Linked DNA regions of Homo sapiens: regions 1, 2, 3 and 4 are each linked to region 5. The links are contacts of gene promoters, found by promoter capture Hi-C in blood cells and fetal thymus (Javierre and others, 2016). All regions are on one chromosome and are shown on one strand. The core of a region is centred on a gene start or on the middle of the fragment in contact, and the rest is flanking DNA. Distances in the headings are between cores, read along the strand shown. Region 1 overlaps LHPP (phospholysine phosphohistidine inorganic pyrophosphate phosphatase). Region 2 has its middle 30 kb from the start of OAT. Region 3 overlaps LHPP (phospholysine phosphohistidine inorganic pyrophosphate phosphatase). Region 4 overlaps LHPP (phospholysine phosphohistidine inorganic pyrophosphate phosphatase). Region 5 holds the start of ABRAXAS2 (abraxas 2, BRISC complex subunit).

Region 1 (2,700 bases), core at 193-2,692, 270 kb after region 5:
GAGTCAGTGTACGTCCCACCAGCCTGGTCTAGCAGGACAGACCAAATGGGAACCGTTAGGGAAATATGCCATACGGGAGCCACCACCATGGCGGGCCCTCACTCTAGGGGCCGAGCTTAACCCTCCCCTGTTCAGCCCACACAGCTGGGGCTCAGCCCCACTTGACACATGAGGAAACCCAGAGCCAAGCAAGGCAAAAAGATCATGCTCAAGCCGGGTAATCCCAGCACTTTGGGAGGCCAAGGCGGGGAGATCACTTGAGCCCAGGAGGCTGGGCAACACAGGGAGACTCCATCTTTATAAAAAATTTAAAAATTAGTTGGGCGTGGTGGCATAAACCTGTTTCCCAGCTATTTGGGAGGCTGAGGCGGGAGAATCACTTGTGCCCAGGAGTTCCAGGCTGCAGTGGGCCATGATGGTGCCACTGCACTCCCACCTAGGAAACAGAACAAGACCGCATCTCAAAAAGAAAAAAACAAAAAAAAAAAAGCACAAAGAGATCACGTCCAAGGTTACATGGTTAGCACGCGGCAGGGGACTGGGTCTCATACCCAGATTCTGGCAGTGCTCTTGGGGTCTCCGGGCAGCTGGACTCCCCCTCTGGAGGGTGGGGCTGGGCTTTTCTGTCTCCCTGCTGCTCTGGTTTCAGCCCCCGGGCTCATGAAAAGTCAGGGAGAGCACCCGGGGCTACCAGGCTGGGCCTGGGCAAAGGGCACCCCAGCCTGGAACTACGTTTGGAGCTGGAGTAGGGGGCCTTGTCCCTGGCTGTCCCCAACCTGAGGACAGTGGAGCTAGAGGAGCACACCGGGTTCACATCCTGGGACCCACCCATGACACAGAGGAACCTGTGCACAAATAAAACCACTGCTGCAAGATGGTTGAAAATAAGAACTGCGTCCAGCTGTGCCTGCAAGGACAGGAGTCAGGGGCCTCTGAGCCCCCTTTCCTTCCTTCTTCACTTTTCCAGGCTGGAAAAGATGTAGCAATCAAAGGGTCAAAAATGCAGATTCCCTGATGCATCAGAACACAGCAGCAATGGTGAATGCTGTGGGGGATGTGCCCTCCCCTGCCCCTGGGCTGTAAGCGCCACCAGCCCTGGCCGTGTCCCCGAGCCGCAGAGCAGCAGCGGAAAGGCAGAGGCCAGCCCTGTGGGCAGCGAGAGGGCTCAGGTGAGACTCCAGGTCTCAGAGGGGCTCTGTGGCGGGCAGGCTCTGGCAGCCCTGGGGGCATCCAGCAGAGCCCAAGTGGCCCAGGTTCATGTTAAGGTTAGAGAACATTTTGGGCAGGTGGCCGGCCTGGCTAGGACGGTGGCCACAGCTCCTGCTGCAAGTTCACTGCGGGCCCCTTCTTCCCCTGCTTGCTGCGGCCTGGCCACGGCTTCCCAGATCTGCCTGGGTCCCCTCCCCACCTCCCCACCACACACTGGAGGGGAAGAGAGCGCTTGGGTTCAGCGGACTTTAACCACAAAGGCAGCAACGATGGGACTTCTGGGGCTGTCACCTGTCACATCTCCGCCAGGCTCTCAGGTGGGTGGGTGGGGTCTAATGACCAACTTCAGGGCCTGCCCTAGGTCAGAAGCCCCCAGAGCCAGGTCCTGCTTATGTCCAGCTCAGCAGCAGGTCGTGTGTGTGTGGAGGGGGCCAAAGCGGGGGAGGGCGGGAGCTGACCAGTCCTGTGAGCCCCCACACTGGCTACTATTGTTTTGTGAGGCCCGGCCCCTGCTCAGAGCTCCAGCAACACTTGGCTAATTGGGGGGTGGCTTGAGAATGTTCAGGGGCACAGGCCTTGGAGTCAGGCAGAGGTGGGTTCGAATCCCGATTCTGACACTGGTAGGCTGTGTGGCCTTGGGCAAGTTACTTCACCTCTCTGAGCTTCCATTTGCAAATCTAAATGGTAGGGGTAAGAAGGCGGGTGGCTTCTCTGGGCTGTTGCAGGGTGTAGACGAGCTGAGGCTGAGTGTGTGTAAGCATGAGCACTGGCCCCGCCATGAGGCATACCTGCGTTATCCCCCTTCCAGCTCCTGGGGAACGCGCTTCAGGGAGTGTCTTGGGAGAAGAGCACGTGTGAGCACCAGGTCCAGAGCACGTGCCTTGCAACACGTGTTGAGCGGCTCTAGGGAGAAGAGAGGGCCCTGCTGACGCTCCCTCAATCCCTGTCCCACCACTCCAGCGCCTTCCAGGACCCTCGAGGGACCTGCACGTTCCCAAGAGGCAAATTCCTGGGGTTGGGAGGCTGCCTACAGGGGTCCTACCTTCTGGGCCAACCCCCAGGCCTTGTGGCCTCACTCTGCAGCCACCTCCCGGCCTCCACCTGGGACCCCCTTCCTCAGCTCAGAGCCCCCCAGCCCTCAGCCCACCGGTTTTCCCACAGGCGGCACCAAGCCCAGCAGGGGGGTTCAGGTTTTAACATCTTTCCCCTCTTGCCCTGGACATGAAGCAGCCTTGCTCAGGAACCAAGAATGCTAATGAGGGTCAGTACCAGAGAGGGTGACTGTTCCCAATCCTGTCTCCCCTGCCCCAGCAGCCAACAGAAGGCAGGAAACCCAGCAGAGGAGGAAGCTGATGCTGCCCCAACCAAAGCCATGGGGGCCACGATGGGGTGTCTGCCCCTGGAAACCCCATGTTCACCTGCTGAGCCATGTGGACCCCACCAGCCTCCTTTCACACACTCGCCTCCGCCTCGGGTCTCCTCCCCACTCTC
Region 2 (2,700 bases), core at 59-2,558, 410 kb after region 5:
GCAGATGATTGCTGCAAATAAGCCTTGTGTGGAATAGCCAAGCATGGCTCAAGGCAGGGTTCGGGAGGACCACCGACAGCTCAGGCTTGCACATCCATGGGGATGCAGGGTCTGGGGGCCTTTGATCTTGGTGGCTTTCTCCTAGGCCAGTCTCTGAGACCGGCAGTGAAGGGCAAGTGGGATCCACCAGCCCCTACTCTCTCCTGCCTTCCTTTTTATCACAACATCTCTTTAATTTATGGCCCCTGAGTGCCAAGCCGTGTACCTGTGAACAAATGGAGTAATTACTCCTGGGAGAAATAGAAAAACATGGATGCAGACCATACAGAAAGCTGCCGGCTTTCAGTGGGGTGACCTGGGAGTGATCACCGGGTGAGGGTGTCCTGCCAGTGTTCTAGGAATCCTGGAATCATGGAGGGTCTCCTGCCAGTGTTTTCATGTTACTGGAGGCTCAGAGAGCGGAAGGGACTTGTCCACCGGCTGCGCTCCCTGGGACAGAAACCTGGGGAGGCCTCCTGATGATGACGGGAGGCGGTGGCGTGGGTGGTTGCTGCGAGGCTCAGAGCTTCGGTTTTGCTTTTGCCTCTGACAACCAGGATGACCTCTGGCAACTCAATGCCTCTCTGTCCTTTATCGAATGAGGGGGTTGAATTAGGACAGAACAGTCACGGGTGGTTTCACAACAGGTGTATGTTCTGAGAAATGCGTCCTTTGGCGATTTTCTCGTTATGTGAACATCATGGCGTGTACTTACACAACCTAGATGGCACAGCCTGCTACGACACAATGCTAAGTATTTGCATAGCTAAACACAGAAAAGGCACAGTAAAAATATGGTATAATCTTTTGGGACCTCCGCCATATTAGAAGGGCATGACTGCCTGGTCTCTGGAGGTGGGGGTGAGGACTGACCAGGTGAGCCTGAGCCCCCATCCAGTGGGCACCGGGCTCAGGTGGGCGCGCGACGGGTCTTGGGAACTGACAGAGGAGCCAGGGTCTGAGGCCCCCGGCAGGTTTTATATAGAGATGGCCAGAAAAGCGCCCCCACGTCCTGTGAGGTTCCCATTCCCCCGTCTTGGGTTTTAAGATCCCCTTGAGACTTAGTTTCCCCCAAAGTCAGTTTCCCGAGAAAAGGAGGCCCCATTTCAGCAGAAAGGGGCTTCGAGCTCCAGGGAGAGGACGGGGGTGTGGCGAGTTGTCCCCTCCCCTCCAAGACTCAGCGCCCACGCGCAAGTCAATAACCCCAAGTCCGGGTCCTGGGGCTTTTGGCCGGAACTGCTCGCAGCCATAGGGCCCCACGCGCGTTGGGACGGCAGGGGGCGCTGCCCGCAAAGCGTTGCTTCCCGGCCGTCCTGCGAGCCCGCGAGATGCGCGTGCGCGAGGCCGGGGCTCGGGAGCTGGGGCGGGGCCGTGGGCGGGGCCAGGAGCCGCGCTGGGGACCGTGCCCTCCTCCGCCGAGGCCTGTAGGGCGCTCGCTCTTCGCTGGGCCGAGTCCCCCCGCGCGCTGCAGAGCAATACAGTTCTGTAAAAGTTTATTATTCTGACGTTGGAATATGCTCCTTGGAGACAATTCAGAACTTGCAGAAACCAGAGCCCCGCGGCCCCTCCCTGCGTAGACTGCGGGCGGCTGTCCCGGGCGTGGGCTGCGGCCCCGCGGGCCCATGCGTGTTCTGGGGACTCTGGGGCGCTGGTTCAGTCCCGCGTGTGTGGGAGTCACGTTCACCTCCTCAGTGCCAGGTGCTGTCCGCGCACCCGTCGGAGCGCCTCGGTTCACCGTGCAGAGGTGTGGGCTCCGGGGCAGGGAAGGGTCCACCCCACCTCCCGCGCTGCAGCGAGCTTGACAGGTGGTGATCCTGGACAGGCGCATCCGTTGGGCCGGGGGCAGGGGCGCTCTGACCCTGTGGGCAGGGCCTCCCGGGACTCTGCCCGGAGCTCCTGGCTGGGCTGTGCCCGGAGGGATCTGAGTGGTGGTCCTTGGGCCCTTGCGGGCCTCAGTTTTTGCCACTGTGCAATGGCCTTACTCATACCTGCCCTGGTGATTGGGGGACCGAAGTTGTGCAGGGGGTGGGAGGATGCGGGGCCTGGTCTCTGCCTGGCTGGGGCCCACCTTGATCCGTGTGGCCCTGCTGAGCCCTGTCCACTGGTCACTGAGATAGTGACGGTCCTGGGCTGGGCAGGAGTGGCAGGCCCTGGGTGTGTGGATGCCATAGGAGGAGAAAGAGCTTTTCCTCACCGTCCTAGGTTCCTGCCTGGGACTCATATAACAAGAGAATAACATACACATTTATTTAATATAATTTTTACCGGATGCAGGAGCCTTCATAAGGAAATGAAGACCCAAAGAAATGTGTAAACCTGTGTGTGTGTGTGTGTGTGTGTGTTTTTGAGACAGAGTTTCACTCTTGTTGCCCAGGCTGGAGTGCAATGGCAGGATCTTGGCTCACTGCAGCCTCCACCTCCTGGGTTCAAGCGTTTCTCCTGTCTCAGCCTCCCAGGTAGCTGGGATTACAGGCGCATGCCACCAGGCCCGGCCAATTTTTGTATTTTTAGTAGAGATGGGGTTTCATCATATTGGTCAGGCTGGTCTCGAACTCCTGACCTCAGGTGATCCGCCCACCTCGGCCTCCCAAAGTGCTGGGATTACAGGCGTGAGCCACCACACCCAGCCAAACCTGTGTTTTTTATGCTTGGTTTGATAAA
Region 3 (2,700 bases), core at 44-2,543, 290 kb after region 5:
CACGCCCAGCAGGGGCTACCACACGTGTTCACTACCCATCTCCCCACCACTCACCAGGGCACGCCATGCTGTGAATTCCAGAAAGCACACACATATAAGCCTGAAGCAACTGTCCTGGGAACCGTCTCCCAAACAGGCCTTCAGATAACCAAGGAATCATCAGGAGCCATTGAGAAAGTACAAAGACAGAGCCAATGAGGCCCCCTGAGGCCAGGGAGGTAGTTTCAGCTGAAAACGGAGCTTTTCTGCCACTCGGCATGGACTCGACATGTATCATAGTCAAGCAGAGGCCAGAGGGGCCTCCCTCAGAGAAGCCACGGCGGATGGTGGTGCTGAGAGAGAGCTCGGAGGAGGTGGCTGAGGGCCACAATGTTGAGAATTCTGCCAGTTACTGGTAGCCGCAAGCCACCGCGAGACATGAGGTACTGAAATAAAACCACGTCTTCCTGGTGTGGTGCTCTCTACTTCATACTTTCCACGGATTTTCTCTGATCTTTCCTCCACCCACCCCTGTGCTTCCCAGAGTGTGTCATGCACACGGGTGACATACTATTTGACTCCAGGCAGAGCAAGGACATACATTTTAATGTAATCATGTGGTCTTTATTTTTAGATTAATCTATTATGGTAAGTGAGAGATTCTGGTTTTCCATTTATAGTAGTCATCAAAAGTTCCTTTTAAAATACATTTATTTAAGTAATAAAATGAATCAATTTTAAGAAACGTGAAGTAAATAGAGCTAGTGGCAAGTACCCAGATATGGTAAAAATACCCAGATATGGTAAAAATTCAAAGTGTTTTTTCCAGAATGACTGATGTTAGGGAAAATCCTGCCAAATCCAAATGAGGTTTTCGAGTCTATCAAACCAACACCTGGCCAGGCAAGACACAGCCAGTGGCACCGCGTGCTCCCGGGAATGGGACCAGCACCAGTGTCTGCTGCATGCACAAGGGGCACTCTGAGGGTTGGGAAAAGCCAGGGCTGGCCGGGCAAGCCCCCACGGCTGCTGGCATCTGGCAGCAGGGCCGGCCAGAGCCCCCGTATTCGGGTCCCCTCTGCCCTTCTCAAGGAATTGTCTTCAAACCGTGAGGTCAGCAGTGAACATTCACAGCACTCCAATTCAGGACCATGTCCACTGCTGCCAGAGACTCCAGGGCCATCCTGCTAGAAGGTTCCTTGGAAATGCAATGGGTCTTCCAAATATTACATGTCATCCTACACCTCCATGCTTCCGGGGAAAATGAAACTGTGTGCATGCTCCTCCCACATACAAAACCAGACAGCACACAGGTTTCCCTCCCAGAATACAGACTTGGTTCTTCCTGGGCTGGAACATTTGTGGATGTGGCCCACGGAGACAGGACCAGAGGAACGTGGTCTCTTGGAGGAAGAGTTCTCATGCAGGAACAGCGTGGAGGTTCTGCGGGATAAAGCGAGGCTGCCTCCAGGCAGAGCCCCGGGAAGCTGTCGGCGAGGGAGGCGGAGGCTGGGGGCCGGGACGCCAGGGCCGGCTGGGTGCACAGCTGCCTGGAGCAGTGATGCCTGTCCAGGCCAGCTTGTGGGCTCCGCATACCAAAGTGCGCTCAGGACCCCAGGGGATTCCCAGATTTACTATCGGTGAAGGGCAATAATCACGCAAGGAGGAGCAATTATTGCCAAATCATTTAGGATTTAAAAAATCACTGGCAAGAAGATAGAGGTCAGGAGGTGCGCTGTCAGGGGAAATAAAAATACTCCACCTGCCAGGGCTGGGCTTCGCTTCCTTTCAGACACGACATGGTGGGGTGTGAGGCGGAGAAAAAAATGAAAGGTCGGACCCCCCAGAACCCAGGATCCAGAGAGCCGGATGGAGGCGCCACAGTCCCAGAGGCAGGTGTCCTGGGTCGGGTGCTACAGCAGTCAATCCTCCCTCTTACGCATCTGCCTGCCTGCCCTGGTCTCCTCTTCAGTGTCCTAGGTGCTGGAGGGAAACATCATCTAACAGGCGGCGATGCTTTGGAGTGCAAAATTCCAGCACCAAAGAGCTTCCGTGGTTCACAAATATTTTCCTTATCCAGGGGCTCTGCCAGGAGGATTAGGGCGGGAAGCAGCAGGGCTGGGTGGTGAAGGTGGAGTGAGCTCAGTGTCTGTAACTGCAGCTCTGGGGTGCACATATCCCCCAGGGAGATGCCCTGAGATGACAGCTCACTCTAGGATGAGCCCTGAATCCAGGCCCCAAAGGAACCCAGGCTCCCACAGAGACCTGGAGACAGTGCAATGCTGAGTAATTGCCACTGTGGTCGGACACCTTCATAAGGAACAAGACTAACAGCAAAACTCAAAGACCACTTTAAAAAAAAAAAGTCAGAAATCATGGTGTTGGTAAGGATGTGGGGAAACAAGCATCTGTATACGCAGCAGGTCAGGAAGGTGAACGGACACACCTTTCTGAAACAGAAATAAGCAACATGCATCACAGCCTCCCAGCCACACCACTAGGATTTGGAGCAAATAATTAGAAATGTACAAGAGGATGTACATACAAGATGTGTTCATCAGGGTTACGCACAAGAGCGAAACTGGAAGCAGCCTCATCTCCATCAATAGGAAATGGTCAAGAATATGACGGGAGTCTGAACAGTGGAATAGTATGCAGCTGTGAAAACTGCTTCGTTAAAGTGCTTCAATAAGCACAAAGACAGCTGTCCCCTAAAAAAGA
Region 4 (2,700 bases), core at 201-2,700, 310 kb after region 5:
GACACTCACAAAGAGAGACACCCAAAGACAGAGATGGACACCCACAGATGGGAGAGATACCCACAGACAGAGAGAGATACCCACAGATGGCGAAAGACACCCACAGACAGAGAGAGACACCCACAGACAGACAGCCATAGAGAGAAAGAGACACCCACAGATGGAGTGCTGTCCCCCTGGTGCCAGTGAGAAAGCTGAGGCTGGGAATGGGTCAGCAACCGAATTTCAGTTTACAGGCGTATTTGGTCGTGGACATGGTCAGCCACCTCAGTAAAACTGGTGAGGGTTATTTTGCATTGAATAAACTTATAAGCAGAAAAAAAAAAAAAGAAAAAAATTACAAGAGGTTGGGGGCGGTGGCTCATGCCTGTAATCCCAGCACTTTGGGAGGCCAAGGCGGGCGGATCACAAGGTCAGGAGATTGAGACCATCCTGGCCAACATGGTGAAACCCCGCCTCTACCAAAAATATAAAAATTAGCTGGGATGGTGGCGGGCGCCTGTAGTCCCAGCTACTCAGGAGGCTGAGGCAGGAGAATCGCTTGAACCCGGGAGGGAGAGGTTGCAGCGAGCCGAGATCACGCCGCTGCACTCCAGCCTGGGTGACAGAGCGAGACTCAGTCTTAAAAAATATATATATATACAAGATAGCCACACCATAGATAACCATGCCCCAAGACATATCCATTTGCTGCATGCTAAGTCAGTCACAAATATTGTTTGGTGAACAATAAAAAACAGATGACAAAACAAGGTCAAGTGTGACATCGATGCTGTGAACATCTCCATCCATAATAGTCTATTCGCACAGGAAGCCACTTGCAAGGACATACACCAAAATAGGGACAGGTGTTTTCCTCGTGCAGTGGGACTAAAAATACTTTCTGGTTTCTTCTTTTGCTCATCTGTATTGTCTAATTTTTCTTCAATGAACATGTGCTATCTCAGTGTAAGAAAAATGTTAAAAATAACCAACACTGTTTTGTTTAAGAAAGAGATGGCAAGGCATGTGCTAAAGGCTCAGACAAAACACTGATCACAAAATCACAACTTCACAGAGACAGTGATCTGTGGCCAGAGACTGTCGGTGCCCAGACTGGGTAGGCCCTCAAGCCTATGTTTTACTAATTAGACAACCCTTGAGAGCATTCTCCAACACCCTGCTACATCCTATGCAAATGCACCTTCTCCTTCTTTGCTCTAAACTTGGGACAATCAACACTTGGCCTCTGAGATCTCCAGAGGGTCTCCCTCTGCAATGACGCCCTCTTCTAGTCTAGACTCCACATGGAAGCTTGATCAACCAGCTCCTGAAGACAGTGTTCCTATTTCCTAAAGAAATGATTAAAGGAGAGGAATAAAGAAATGAAGAGAGAAAGCATGAAAAAGGGAGGGAAAAGAAGATCACCGGTGCTCCTCCCACCTCCCCTTCTGCATCCTTCTCTGCCTGATTCCGCAAGTTGGAGACTGGCACAGCATCATCTAAAGCACCGAGAAATGACTCTCCCTGGAGCCAACTTACCCTTTTCCCAGTGATATGAGCACAGGTTTTTCCAGCTCCATGAGCACCTGGAAGGCGTTATTCATGTTTTGATAAGAAAAGCTTTCTCCTGCGTCTGCAATTACCACACAGTTTGGGTTGGATGTGTCGATCTGATCAAATTCTGAGCGGACTCCTGGAAAGAGAGAGAGAGACAGAGTGCCACGGAGCCCTGGGAGGACATGGCCTACCTCCCCATCTCCTACCAGGGACACCTTTCACATGTCCTCCCCCTTTCTCAGATGCATTTCTTTCTGATCATCACAGCTGCCATGGGAGGTAGACACAGAAGGGTTATTCCTATTTGACAGAGGAGGGAATTCGGCTCCTCAGAGAGGGCTTATGAGGAGAAAGGTGGACACACCCAGGACCCTCCATCCCAATACCACATCAGCCCCAGGAGCTCCCTGAGGTCACTATCGCAGGCAGGAAACCCACAGCTTTGCTACTGAGAAGGGAAATCTGCTCAGAAGACACTGAGAGCCTGCAGCAGGAGGAAATGGGGCTGCACAAGCCTTGGAGGGTTGGCACTACTGGTCCCAAACTGTAAGAACCGTTGACACATTTCAGGCAACCCCACACATATGTCCTGAAGAAAAAGCAGAATTCCATCCCCACAGGTCCAGTTCACCAGCTCCCTTAGGAAACTCTCTTCCTCCTTCTCCTTCTTTGTCTTCCCCCATTTTAAATTAAAATAGGAAAATTTGCAAGGATACATCAAATCATTGGATCTGTGTTTTCAGATCCTAGAAGAAACATGCTGTCATCTCTCTTAGGACTAGATGTTGACCTTTCTAAATTGAAAAGAAACTGAGGCCAGGTGCGGTGGCTCATGCCTGTAATCCCAGCACTTTGGGAGGTCAAGGTGGGCGGATCGCCTGAGTTCAGGAGTTCGAGACCAGCCTGGCCAACATGGTCAAAATCCCATCTCTACTAAAAATACAACAATCAGCCCGGCACGGTGGCGGCCGCCTGTAATCTCAGCTACTCAGGAGTCTGAGGCAGTAGAATCACTTGAACCCGAGAGGCAGAGGTTGCAGTGGGCTGAGATTGCACCACTGTATTCCAGCCTGGGCAACAGAGCGAGACTCTGTCTCAAAAAAAAAAAAAAAAAAGAAAGAAAGAAACTGAAATACACAATGAGATACGATTTCATACCCA
Region 5 (2,700 bases), core at 51-2,550:
ATAGTCCATGGACACTAGGGGTATCACAAACCCTTACATATGGAACTATATTACATTATTAAATAGCTGGTTGTAGTACCCTAGGCCATAGTCTTCAAAGCTGCTTCTGGAAAAACCCATGATGTATATATTCCTATTCCTATCATTAAGTTCTACCATCAACACTGAAGAGATGAAAGGTACAATAATTTAATTGCATTCAATTTACTAATGGAATCACCTCCCTGTGAAATCAGTTTTTATTAATGGAAGCTAAGATTGCTGACATCAAACCAAATGCAGTTCCTCCTTCTGCAGTGTACCATTTTGCTTTGTAATGACAACCAAAAACCCCACACATAGGTTTAATGAGTTTGAATCATTCACTATTAACATCACTTAAAATAATCCCCCAATTTGGTGGCCAAATTATATACCTCCTTTAAGAGAGAAGTGATCTAGTTTCACAAAGCATTTCCAATCAGAGGCCAATGACGTTAAAAGACAATTTGTAAAATAAAGACACTGAAACAGACAGGATCTGCTCCTCCTGTGGGCTCACAGCCTATGCATTTCCCATCACTCAGTAGTGGGCCTGTCACTTCCCTATTTCACTGTGACTAGTGAAAGAACTAGTCACAAAGAACTAAACACGCAACTTCAAGGAAATACAAAATAGACCCTGCACCGAACGCTCCTGTATACATTCTCCATTTTGCATCAGGGCGAAGAAAACACACAACCGTGTCTAACAAGTATCAGTAGTGACAGCCACGGTTTCACTCGCAGCACCCCCACGACAACCTGCGAGACCGGCGGGCGGGGCTGAGTACCTCGCCTACTGGACTAAACGCCCGGCCTTTAGATTCCTTCCCGACCCCGTGCGCCCCTCTTAAGTCTAGAAGCCTGACTTTCAGGGAGGGGCAGGCGCTCGGTTTCCACCGAGCGACTCCTGACACTGCAGGAGGCCAGGTGGGACAGTTTTGCTGCACGGGAGACGGCTGTGCCGGGACGGCCGAGCGGCTGAGAGCGCGAAGCCAGGGGGCCTGTCCCAGGGGCGAAGGAGCCCCCAGAGGCAAGAGCTCACCGGGGGCGGGAGCCGCCCGGGTCACCAGCTCCTCCGGCCGGCCCTGGTGCCCAGGGGGCGAGCCGCATGAGGTCCCGGCTTGGCCGCGAGCGCCGGCCTGAGACAGAGGCTGAAAGCCCCCAGCGGGCGCGGCAGGGGGCCCGGCACCTACGTGGTCCGCGTTGCTGTTGGCGCTGTGGAAACACACAGCACTGAAGGTGTAGCCCGAAATGGACGCCGCCATGATGGAAATCTCCAGCTACCCCATCATGCCCCGCGGAGGGCACACGGCCTTCCGGACGGCCCGACCCCTTGGCATCATGGGAAGTGGAGTCTGCGGCGGGCAGCGGCCGAGGGCCCTGAGCGCTCACAGTCTTGAAGGCTGAGGAACGCCGGTTTTTGCGATCGGAAGGACCCCGGCACCGTATCCTCCGCAGGGGTGTCGCTCCCGACACGCCTCAGACAGCGGTTGATAGTTCCGCAAACAGTTCTTTCCCTTTGCAAGTGAAACCTTAGTATTAAAAGACAACATTCTAGCCGGGCGCAGTGGCTCACGCCTGTAATCCCAGCACTTTGGGAGGCCGAGGCGGGCGGATCACCTGAGGTCAGGAGTTCGAGACCAGCCTGACCAACATGGAGAAACCCTGTCTATATTGAAAATACAAAAACTAGCCGGGCGTGGTGGCACATGCCTGTAATCTCAGCTACTCGGGAGGCTGAGGGAGGGGAATGGCTTGAACCCGGGAGGCGGAGGTTGCGGTGAGTCGAGATCGTGCCATTGCACTCCAGCCTGGGCAGCAAGAGCGAAGCTTCGTCTCAAAAAAAAAAAAAAAAAAAAAAAAAAAAGGCCAACATTTAGGCTGAGCGTGGTGGCTCGCGCCTGTAATCCCAGCACTTTGGGAGGCCGAGGTGGGCGGATCACGAGGTCAGGAGTTTGAGACCATCCTGGCTTACACGGTGAAACCCCGTCTCTACTAAAAATACAAAAAATTAGCCGGACGTGGTGGCGGGCTCCTGTAGTCCCAGCTACTCAGGAGGCTGAGGCAGGAGAATGGCGTGAACCTGGAAGGCGGAGCTTGCAGTGAGCCGAGATCGCGCCACTGCACTCCAGCCTGGGTGACAGACCAAGACTCCGTCTCAAAAACAAAACAAAACAAAAAGCCAACATTTGAGGCCGGGCGCGGTGGCTCATGCCTGTAATCCCAGCACTTTGGGAGGGGGGGGCGTGTGTGGGGAGTGTTAACCTGAGGTCAGGAGTGTTATGCGCGTTTGTGTGAAGAGACCACCAAACAGGCTTTGTGTGAGCAACAAGGCTGTTTATTTCAACTGGGTGCAGGCGGGCTGAGTCCGAAAAGAGAGTCAGCAAGGGAGATAGGGGTGGGGCCGATTTATAGGATTTGGGTAGGTAGTGGAAAATTACAGTCAAAGGGGGTTGTTCTCTGGTGGGAAGGGGCGGGGGTTACAAGGTGCTCAGTCGGGGAGCTTCTAAGCCAGGAGAAGGAATTTCACAAGGTAATGTCATCAGTTAAGGCAGGAACCGGTCATTTTCACTTCTTTTGTGATTCTTCAGTTACTTCAGGCCATCTGGATGTATACGTGCAGGCCACAGGGGATATGATGGCTTAGCTTGGGCTCAGAGGCCTGACAAGGAGTTC

Evidence for each region. The method cuts DNA at HindIII sites, captures the fragments that hold promoters and counts their contacts. A CHiCAGO score of 5 or more calls a contact.
Region 1: a contact is called between a fragment that was not itself captured here and the fragment with the promoter of ABRAXAS2 in region 5, in 17 of 17 cell types (naive CD8 T cells, non-activated CD4 T cells, naive CD4 T cells and 14 more). The highest score is 21.2, in naive CD8 T cells.
Region 2: a fragment that was not itself captured here is called in contact with the fragment with the promoter of ABRAXAS2 in region 5 in 1 of 17 cell types (total CD4 T cells); the score reaches 5.3 in total CD4 T cells.
Region 3: a fragment that was not itself captured here is called in contact with the fragment with the promoter of ABRAXAS2 in region 5 in 1 of 17 cell types (naive CD8 T cells); the score reaches 6.9 in naive CD8 T cells.
Region 4: a contact is called between a fragment that was not itself captured here and the fragment with the promoter of ABRAXAS2 in region 5, in 9 of 17 cell types (total CD4 T cells, non-activated CD4 T cells, naive B cells and 6 more). The highest score is 10.1, in total CD4 T cells.

The regions. Positions count from the first base shown.
Region 1 is chr10:124,525,562-124,528,261 of GRCh38, reverse strand. All of the region lies in intron 6 of LHPP (phospholysine phosphohistidine inorganic pyrophosphate phosphatase), which reads right to left. Among named protein-coding and RNA genes, the nearest start is that of LHPP, 65 kb to the right of the region's middle. RefSeq lists an enhancer at 1-76. The HindIII fragment of the contact is 9,266 bases long and covers 1-2,700 here.
Region 2 is chr10:124,388,027-124,390,726 of GRCh38, reverse strand. No RefSeq gene overlaps it. Among named protein-coding and RNA genes, the nearest start is that of OAT, 30 kb to the left of the region's middle. RefSeq lists a silencer at 1,221-1,510. The HindIII fragment of the contact is 3,581 bases long and covers 1-2,700 here.
Region 3 is chr10:124,509,208-124,511,907 of GRCh38, reverse strand. The region is part of intron 5 of LHPP (phospholysine phosphohistidine inorganic pyrophosphate phosphatase); the gene reads right to left. Among named protein-coding and RNA genes, the nearest start is that of LHPP, 49 kb to the right of the region's middle. The HindIII fragment of the contact is 9,442 bases long and covers 1-2,700 here.
Region 4 is chr10:124,487,397-124,490,096 of GRCh38, reverse strand. LHPP (phospholysine phosphohistidine inorganic pyrophosphate phosphatase) reads right to left here. Exons shown (of 7, transcript NM_022126.4): 3 at 1,522-1,675. Among named protein-coding and RNA genes, the nearest start is that of LHPP, 27 kb to the right of the region's middle. The HindIII fragment of the contact is 309 bases long and covers 1,296-1,604 here.
Region 5 is chr10:124,800,419-124,803,118 of GRCh38, reverse strand. It overlaps ABRAXAS2 (abraxas 2, BRISC complex subunit), which reads right to left and starts at 1,300. Exons shown (of 9, transcript NM_032182.4): 1 at 1,218-1,300. The coding sequence starts at 1,289. RefSeq lists a silencer at 1,025-1,104 and enhancers at 593-1,146, 1,205-1,474, 1,147-1,701. The HindIII fragment of the contact is 5,454 bases long and covers 1-1,856 here.